Regions from separate parts of the Homo sapiens genome. Here all the other regions are linked to region 1. The links are contacts of gene promoters, found by promoter capture Hi-C in human tissues and cell types (Jung and others, 2019). All regions are on one chromosome and are shown on one strand. The core of a region is centred on a gene start or on the middle of the fragment in contact, and the rest is flanking DNA. Distances in the headings are between cores, read along the strand shown.

Region 1 (3,141 bases), core at 287-2,786:
GAAGGCGAAGGATGAGTTTCTTATCCTGAGCCCAGCTTTGGCTCTGGTCAGCAGGTGCACAAAGTGCCATCCGTACCAAACAGGGCAGAAGAAGTCTTAATTCTGGATCACTTAAAGATGCCAGGCAAACAACATCCACCTTCTGCATTGCCTCAAAAGCAAAAGGGCTGACAAACTGAAGACTTGTACATTCAGTCATTATTACTGTTTGTTGATCCTAATGGTAAAAATACAAATGAAAGTAGGAGTTTAACTTTCACATGTATGAACACCCAACTTTCTAAAAACCCTGAAAAATGTGGTGTATCTTTAATAGGTCCCTATGTTGGCAATGTTCCTGGCACAATCAAGACAAGGCTTCTCTGTCTCCCTAGGTTTATACTGTCACCTGGGAAATGGGAAAGAAAACAGAGTATATTAATGTCTCTTCCAGCCTCAGGAATCTTCTGCTCTAATACTCATATTTTACAAAGAAGGAATATGAAGCCCAGAGAGATGAAGTAACACGCCCAAAATAGTATTACTAGTTAGAGGCACAATCCAAGGCTGAATCCTCATCTACTAAAATCCCAGTCCAAGACTTTCTCCACTATATCAGTCACATGAGCTCCACAAAATGTAAACAAAAGTGAATGGTCATAGTTAAGTGCTTTCTTTCATACCCCGATAGTTTCACATGCCTACCCCGATATACATCAAGAACTATTGGGCTTCTCTTTCTCACCCTCCATGAGTCGGTGGAAAAACTAGCAAATCACTGGGCAGAACCAATGCCAGATTCAAGGCTCTGGAGGCCACAACACTATCCTATGTCCCCTGTGTTACCGGGTAAAAAGCAGATGTGTGGGTGCTATGTGAGAAAGACGCGTCTCATTAGCGCACTTCTCTGTCTCCAGGAATCATCCAAGGCACAAAAAGTAAACAAAAAGGCAGTGAGCTGGCAGCCAAAGCAGTCCCCTCTCAAGGCCGACCGACTAGCAGCAGCGTGGGTAAAAGTCGTGGGTAAAAACTGCTTTGCTTTCAGGGAGGGGCTGCTCTTTTAACAGAGGGGCGGGCTGACTGGAGCAGAGGAGCCAAGACCTGCGTGCTCCTCCGTCTCGCCCCGGGCGCAACTAGAACCAATAAGTCCCTCAGGCTGAGCAAAGTCTGGCCAGGCTCCGACACGGACCTAGGAACGCGCTGAGGCCAGAGAAGCGGACGCTTCATACCTTAAGATCTACCCTCCAGCCTCACGGAACCGCACACGGACTCCGCGTCCTAGAGGCGGGACGCGGCAGAAATCGAGAGCGCGGTCCGATGTTGGGCCTAGGCGATATCCGGAACCCCAAACCCTAGTTGTGCCTCGAGTCGACTCGGACACCAAGAACTCAGACGCCGGGACCAACCGGGTTGTCGATACAAAGTGGGAAGGATGGGGGCACCACACAAAGGCAGAACCGGGACTGTAGGAACGGAAAAGCGGGAGACTTTTTCAACCTGCACCCAGCACCTTCATTCATCCCCAGCGTCTGACTCCCGTCGGCCACCGTACTGGTCTGAGAGGAAGGGTGGCTGCGAGAGGAAAGGCAGAGACGTCGGCGCCAATGCAACTGTGCGCGTGCGCGGCCCCGCCCCTTTCTCCACTTTATTTGCCCTGCCCTACTTGTTCGCCAAAAATTTAGAAATGTGATTCTGGTAGGCTCTGATTTCCAGAGCCTACCAGCTCCTTCCTTTTAGACAAGCAAGCCACTGAGCCCCTCAGAACTTAAATTTCATCATCACAGGATTGCCATGGCATTCAAATGGCATAACGTGTGTTAAAATCGTTCCCACTATTCTTTGACACTAGTGGTACCAAACTGTACTCTTTAAATCTTTGCCTGTGCCTTCCCAGAACCAAAATTCTAGAATCCCAGGATTTGTGGGAGAATTTTAAAAGTGATCTAACCCCAAACTTTCTTCCGCTCTTGACCTCACACCTCCGCTGTCAGAAGTTAAACACCTTCCTTTCAGGTTCTTAACTTGGGGGACCCATAGAACCTTAGAGAGGCAATGCACGGGGATTCAGGAATTCTCTGGAATCCGTTCAGAACTGAGTGCTCGGCACTTCTTCTGGGAAGAGGGTCCAAAACTTTCAACAACTTCTCAAAGGAAGTCTGATCACTCAGAAAAGAACCACTAGTCTATATATGAAGAACCGCTAGTCCATATGTCTTCATACTATTTATTGTTCCTAGTTCGATCAACGTTTATTTGGCAACTTCTATTTACCAGATATTGTGCTAGGAGCTGGAAATAAAAATATTTTACAAAGATATAGCACTTTATAACCTCTTTAAAAATAAAGTCAGAGCCGGGCGTGGTGTCTCATGCCTGTAATCCCAGCGCTTTGGGAAGCCGAGGCGGGCGGATCACCTGAGGTCAGGAGTTCGAGACCAGCCTGACGCAACATGACTAAACCCCAACTCTACAAAAAATATAAAAATTAGGCCGAGCACGATGGCTCATGCCTGTAATCCTAGCACTTTGGGAGGCCGAGGCAGGCAGATCACGAGGCCAGGAGTTCGAGACCAGCCTGACCAACATGGTGAAACTCCGCCTCTACTAAAAATGCAAAAATTAGCCAGGCGTGGTGGTGTGCGCCTGTAATCTCAGCTACTTGGGAGGCTGAGGCGGGAGCATTGCTTGAACCTGGGAGGCGGAGGTTGTGGTGAGCTGAGATCGTGCCATTGCACTCCAGCCTAGGCAATAAGAGCGAAACTCCGTCTCAAAAAAAAAAAAAAAAAAAAAAAATTACCCCAGCGTGGTGATGGAGCACCTGTAGTCCCAGCTACTTCGGAGGCTGAGACAGGAAAATCACTTGAACCTAGGAGGCAGATGTTTCAGTGAGCAGAGATCATGCCACCGCACTCCAGCCTGGGCAACAGAGCCAGACTCCATCTCAAAAATATATATATATATATGACTTTCAACATAGATCAGCAAAGGAAGAAAAGAATTGTGTGTTGCAATGCTTCTGAAAATTTTTTCCACCTGACCCACAATAATACATTTCACATTGTGACCCAGAAAAAACATATGTATATATCCACATACAAAAATAAGTGTAAGTGTATAAATTTATATGCTATATAAACATATAAATATATAACATATAAACCC
Region 2 (3,141 bases), core at 274-2,773, 170 kb after region 1:
CAACATCTTGGACCACAAGTCTATAAGCTGAGTTTGACTGACTGTAAAAGCCTGTGAATCTATTGTATTCACTGGCAAAAATCTTCAAAATAGGCAATCCCCAGCTTATTAGTTTATTTATTGGTCTGTTGTCTGGAACTGGGAACAAGTTTTCCTATAGAAACAATATTACAAATGGTGGCTCTGCCCCAAGGCCAGCCCACAAAAGCTCACAGAACCGTAATGTACCTGAAATATTGTACTCATAATACTAAAGATCCTGACCACTATTTATAAAAGTGTTTCTGTGGGAAAGTGCATTTCGAGTTTTAATGCCGGTAACACATATTCCTCAGCCCTGTGAGTCCTCTGGACTCTTGACCTTACTCCCACTGTGCTGATTCTTATCAGAATGGCACCATAAGCGCTGGCACCATAAGCAGCAGGAAGGCAAGTTAGTTGCTTTCTGTTGCTACAGAATTCAAGCTGAAGTTTCAAGCAATTCATCTTCACTGAGCTGACCCCAACCCCTACCATGTACCCTGGCCTGTGATCTAAGTTTAGCCTTTTAAACACAACAAAGAGCCTCTTATGCAAAACATGCTTTGTGCACCCTATCCCAAGCTGATACATAAACTCTGTCACATTAGGGACTCAATTTGGATGTTTCTGGAATGCCAAAGATGAGCGGGAGTCTTCGTTTCATGAGGAAAATGGTCTGGAAAATTTTGGGACTAGTAAAATCCCTGAGACACTGGAAAGGGACAGCTTTTGAAGAGGGGCTTGTATAATCAAGCGGAGAAGTCACCTGATGTTGACTGAAAGGAGATGAAAAATGTCCCTAAGGAGGCCAGGCATGGTGGCTCACGCTTATAATCCCAGTGCTTTGGTAGGCCGAGGTGGGCGGATCACTTGAGGTCAGGAGTCACAACGCCAGGAGTTTGAGACCAGCCTGGCCAACATGGTGAAACCCCATCTCTACTAAAAATACAAAAATTAGCTGGGCATGGTGGCGACCGCTTGTAACCCCAGCTACTTGAGAGGCTGAGGCATGAGAATAGTTTGAACCCAAGAGGCAGAGGTTGCAGTGAGCCCAGATCATACCACTGCACTCTAGCCTGGGTGACGGAGCGAGACTCTGGCTCAAAAAAAAAAAAAAAAGAGTCCCTAAGTTTAGAACACTGGTGTCTTTGGCAAGGACAAGTATCTCTGAGTATGATACAGACACTCAAATACTCTCACTTAGAGAGTTCAGGTGGAGAACTGAAATCTGAAAGATCCACATGACATTCTGGGGGCCTAAAAACTATGATTTCTTCATAGACAAAAGATATTTTCTGTTGGCTATGAAGATTGTAATTGTAGGAAACTTTCTCACTATATCCAGAGCCCCAGCCTCAGTGGTAGAGGACAATGACATGTGGTGGTCCTGTTGGCCTGGAGGAGTAGCGAGGATTCAAGATTAGAGCCTGGGATAGTCACAGAGGCCGTTGAAGGACAGCATGAGTCCCTGGGACGCTCAGGACTAGATCCACTTTGGGCAGTTGGGGCTTCGAGCCCTAGTGCCACACAGGGCTTATTTTGGTAAAGCACTCTGATTGGGACAATACCTTTCCTCTATGGTGTACAGTCTTGATGGGACTAGAAATCAAACTGCCTTGTTCTTTCCTAGCCAGGGAGCGAGGTGAACAGACTGTTTCCTTAGATTTGAATCTTAGGGCTGGGCACGGTGGCTCACACCTGTAATCCTAGCACTTTGGGAGGCTAAGGCTGATGGATCACTTGAGCACAGGAGTTTGAGACCAGCCTGAGCAACATGGCGAAACCCTGGCTCTACAAAAAAAATACAAAAAAATTAGCTGGGCCTGGTGGCGTGCACCTGTAGTCCCAGCTACCTGCGGGGCTGAGGTGAGAGGATCGCTTTAGCCCAGGAGGTCAAGGTTGCAGTGAGCCGAGATCACACCACTGCACTCCACCCTGGGTGACAAAGTGAGGCGCTGTCTCAGAAAAAAAAAAAAAAGATTTGAATCTTGAATGGCACGACCTAGACACTAAAAGCTGGTTGGCACCTATTGTCCCAGCGTTGTGCCCCCAGCCACCTTAACCTCTAGAGTTGCCCGGCTTCCTGTCCTCCAAGCAGACTCTCTAGCTTTCCCATGAGTCCCATCTGCTACCTATTATCCTCCCAAAACAGTTCTCTCCTACTCAAGTCATCCAGTCTGTTTCTGTTTTGTATGATTGAAGAACTCTCACTAATACAGACTCTGATGGCAGAAGGTTGATCAAGGAAAATCTGCCAGTACAATTTGTAAAGCAACTCAAAGCCTAAATCAGCAGAAGGAATAGTTATAGCATATCATCTTCAGATACAAAAATGACAGTTCATATCTTTCAGATGTGATGAGCTCAACTTTACCTGATATGTTCACAATGTCAAGTTCAAATTTAAAAAACAAAAAACAAGCAAACAATAAAACCCTTTTGGCCAGGCACAGTGGCTAATGCCTGTAATCCCAGCACTTTGGGAGGCCGAGGCAGGCAGATAACTTGAGGCCAGGAGTTCGAGACCAGCCTGGTCAACACGGTGAAACCCCGTCTCTACTAAAAATACAACAAATTAGCGGGGCGTGGTGGTTCGTGACTGTGGTCCCGGCTGCTTGGGAGGCTGAGGCAGGAGAATTGCTTGAACCCGGGAGATGGAGGTTGCAGTGTGCTGAAATCATGCTACTGCCCTCCAGCCTGGGTGACAGAGCAAGACTCCGTCTAAAAAAATTAAAATAAAAATAAATTAGCCGGGCATGGTGGTATGTGCCTGTAGTCCTATCTACTTGGGAGGCTGAGGTGAGAGGATGGGTTGAGCCCAAGAGTTTGAAGTTACAGTGAGCTATGATCACACCACCGCAGTCCAGCCTGAACAACAGAGTGAGACCTCTGTTGTTTAGAGTGAGACCTCTGTTGTTTAGAGTTCTCTGTTGTTTAGAGTGAGACCTCTAAAAACTATTTTTTTTTTTTACCTGAGAAGGCAAAGATGGATGGGTAGAGGGAAGGTTAATATAAATATTATTCTGGGAACAAGTTACGAATTCCTAGCCCTGCATCATGCAATTTACTCTGATGACATGATAAATATGTTGGCTGTATTCAATGGTAACTATGGTTTTG
Region 3 (3,141 bases), core at 323-2,822, 130 kb after region 1:
TCAAGACTAGCCTGGCAATACAGGAAGACCCTGACTCCAAAAAACTTTTTTTAGTTAGTAGGGCATAGTGGCAATGCCTGTAGGCCCAGCTGCTGGGGAAGCTGAGGTGGGAGGATTGCTTGAGTCCAGGAGTCGGAGGCTGCAGTGAGCTATGATTAAGCACTGCAGGCTGAGTGAGACAAAGTGTGACCTCCATCCCTACAAAAAAAAGAAAAAAAAATTCCTTCTCTTGTAGCTCTATGTCCAGAGAAAATAAAGTTCAACTCTGCATTCTTAGTACTTTTCTGTTACTATTAGCATTACAGTTCTTAATCATCAGTGTTTCTTGAAATTTTTATGGACTATTTATTGGAAGAAAACACAAATGCTAAATTTGATTACCATATTTTTTTCCTGAAGATGCAGATTACAGTAGTGCCAAAGTATGTGATAAGTCATCAAAATAATTCTCTATCAATGGGGAAAAAAAATCACAACCAAAAAAGCAGACACACCCTGCACTCAACATTTTTCTCAAAAAAATGGCATCTTTAAATATCTCCACGGTGGTAAAAAATGAATCTTCTCCAATACAATTTTGCAAAACTATTAAAATGTAACATATGCTAATGAATAATGGCTCAAAAATTAACATGGTAGAAAATACCATGTATTTCCTGAAATAAAGAGAAATGTTTAAATGCTAGATCAGTGTTTCTCCTGAATAATCATTAATAACCTATACATTCAACAAATATACCGAGAGCCTTAAGTTGGCCGCATCATTATCTATGGCAAAACTTGAAAACTGATTTAAAAACAGCCTAGTATGTTATGTTTGGCTTGAAAACTTAGAAGATACACTTGATCAAAAAAACAGTATGCAGAAGAAATACAGCAAATGAAGTTGTCACCTAGGAGACTAGCCAATTTAAAGAGTCGGGCCACATCACAAGTAAATTTTACAATAGTAGAAATAAATTACTCTCTTTAGACTATGTGGGGCACACAACAATGTTTTAGTTTGGCTGGGACTAGATTCCTATGCCTGGCTGTTTATCTATCTGTCAATCCTATTAACAGCTGTCATTTAAGGTTAAAGTCCACTACAGTTAATATCCTTCAATTAAAACATCCAAAATTAAATTCAGAACAATAGTCCACTTAGTTTGAGCACTATTCATTATGATAAAATTCTGGTATAATAAAACTATCTGAACATGTTACTAAAATCTACTTTACAGACCTCAGGAGCCAGGAAAAAGAACAAATATTTTTAGCCCTGAGTTTTTTTAGTTCACAAGGTATCAGTTTTCTCAAAGAGTCTCATCACAGTCTAACTTGCTATGATTTTTTTAAGATGACAAATGGGAGAGGACGCAGTGTTTGCTTTTATTTTTATTTAAAGGGAAAGAATAAAAGCCAATGATGACAGCAATTGAATTCCAAAAATGTTAGAACACAGAATAAAAATACACAGAAAACTCTCCTTCAAGACCACATTAATGAAAATGATACAATCTTGCTCTGAAGCAAATTAACAGTACACTTAAAAGTACCAGTCCTACCCACCACAGAGATTCTTGACCAGAGGGACTGAGCTAAGATTTTCCCATCACCCATTTTATACCTCTTTCACCCACTATCACACAACCACTAAACAAAGCTACAAAATACAATTTTTAAAAAAAAGGGGCCAGGCATGGTGGCTCATGCCTGTAATCCCAGCACTTGGGGAGGCTGAGGCGGGCAGATCACCTGAGGCCAGGAGTTCCAGACCAGCCTGGCCAACATGGCGAAACTCCTATTAAAATCTCTACCAAAAATACAAAAATTAGCCAGGCGTGATGACACATGCCTGTAGTCCCAACTACTCGGGAGGCTGAGGCAGAAGGATCGCTTGAACCTGGGAGGCGGAGGTCGCAGTGAGCCAAGATCGCCCCACTACACTCCAGCCTGGGAGACAGAGCGAGACTTCATCTCAAAAAAAAAAAAAAAAAAAAAAGAAAGAAAGAAAGAAAAAAGCTGTAACCCCAAAGGAGTTTTATTCCCTAATCCTTTTTGTATCAAAACATATCGACCCCGATTCAACTAATCATTATCCTATAGAGGATAAAGCAAAAAGTAAGAAAATCATCTATGTTTGGCTTTGGAATTCAAGAGATTTTTTGAACAAATAACCTTCTGGAATGTTATAGTTTGGCTAATACTAGTTAGCACAAATCCTGATCCAAAAATCATCCAGCCTTTGCAAATTACTTTGCTCAACGGTATTGACTTACTGCTACAAAATGAGTAACTGAGGGTTTAAAGTATGTATTAAATCAGACGTGATTTGCTGTAACTGATCTTTGCCAGTTAGCAATAAAATAAGTTTACATTCTATTTCTACACATCAGCTAAACTTGAAAGGAAGGTAACCCAAACAAATGCTAAGTGACATAAGAGAAAATGAAATTTAAAATGCACTATGGAATCTGAACAGATTCTTCAGAACTGTCGAAATCATCAAAACCAAAGAAAGTCTGAGAAACTGTCACAGTCTAACAAAGCCTAAGGAGACATGACAATTAAATGTAATAGGGGTATCTTAAATGAGATCCTAGAAAAGAAAAACATATTAGGCAAAAAAATAAAGGAAATCCAAATATATACTTTAGTTAATAATAAAGTATCAATATTGGTTCATTAGTTAATTTTTAAAAATACACTGCATGACACAAAGGAGCTAAGGGGGTTAAACAAAGGCAATTCTGTATTTCTGTTACTGAATATTCCAGTTAAGAAAAACTGAGAATTCTAATCTTTGAAAAAAGAAATGCTTTCCCTCTTCCCTCACTACCAAGAAAAACAAGGGCAATATTATCACCATAATAAAAAACACTTCAGTAACAAGATGTGGTGTGTGCTGAACCAAACAGAAGGACACTGCCTGTGAAGAGCAGGCTCAAGCTAAATTAACCAGCTTTTTAGTTACCACCTGGGTCCTTCCGGTACCCCATTCCTCAGTGCTACACCTCCACTTGGAACTCAGGACTGCCTCCAGCAGCTGATGCTACCCTGTACTGTCCAGCTGCTCTCTTCTCAGGGGAGCTTAGAAGAAGGAAATAGAGTGCCACAGATGGAAGAAATGAAAAAGGGGTTAGCTAGAGAGACAGAGGC

The links. Contacts are between HindIII fragments. The study calls those that stand out against the background at their distance.
Region 2: a contact is called between a fragment that was not itself captured here and the fragment with the promoter of INTS2 in region 1, in 1 of the 25 tissues and cell types used here (lymphoblastoid cells).
Region 3: a contact is called between a fragment that was not itself captured here and the fragment with the promoter of INTS2 in region 1, in 5 of the 25 tissues and cell types used here (bladder, dorsolateral prefrontal cortex, liver and 2 more).

Annotation. Positions count from the first base shown.
Region 1 is chr17:61,926,446-61,929,586 of GRCh38, forward strand. It overlaps INTS2 (integrator complex subunit 2), which reads right to left and starts at 1,537. Exons shown (of 25, transcript NM_001351695.2): 1 at 1,209-1,537; 2 at 1-217. The coding sequence starts at 199. RefSeq lists a silencer at 1,568-1,667. The HindIII fragment of the contact is 16,998 bases long and covers 1-3,141 here.
Region 2 is chr17:62,101,364-62,104,504 of GRCh38, forward strand. No RefSeq gene overlaps it. Among named protein-coding and RNA genes, the nearest start is that of MED13, 38 kb to the left of the region's middle. RefSeq lists an enhancer at 1-154. The HindIII fragment of the contact is 7,276 bases long and covers 1-3,141 here.
Region 3 is chr17:62,056,559-62,059,699 of GRCh38, forward strand. The region is part of intron 2 of MED13 (mediator complex subunit 13); the gene reads right to left. Among named protein-coding and RNA genes, the nearest start is that of MED13, 7.1 kb to the right of the region's middle. The HindIII fragment of the contact is 7,913 bases long and covers 1-3,141 here.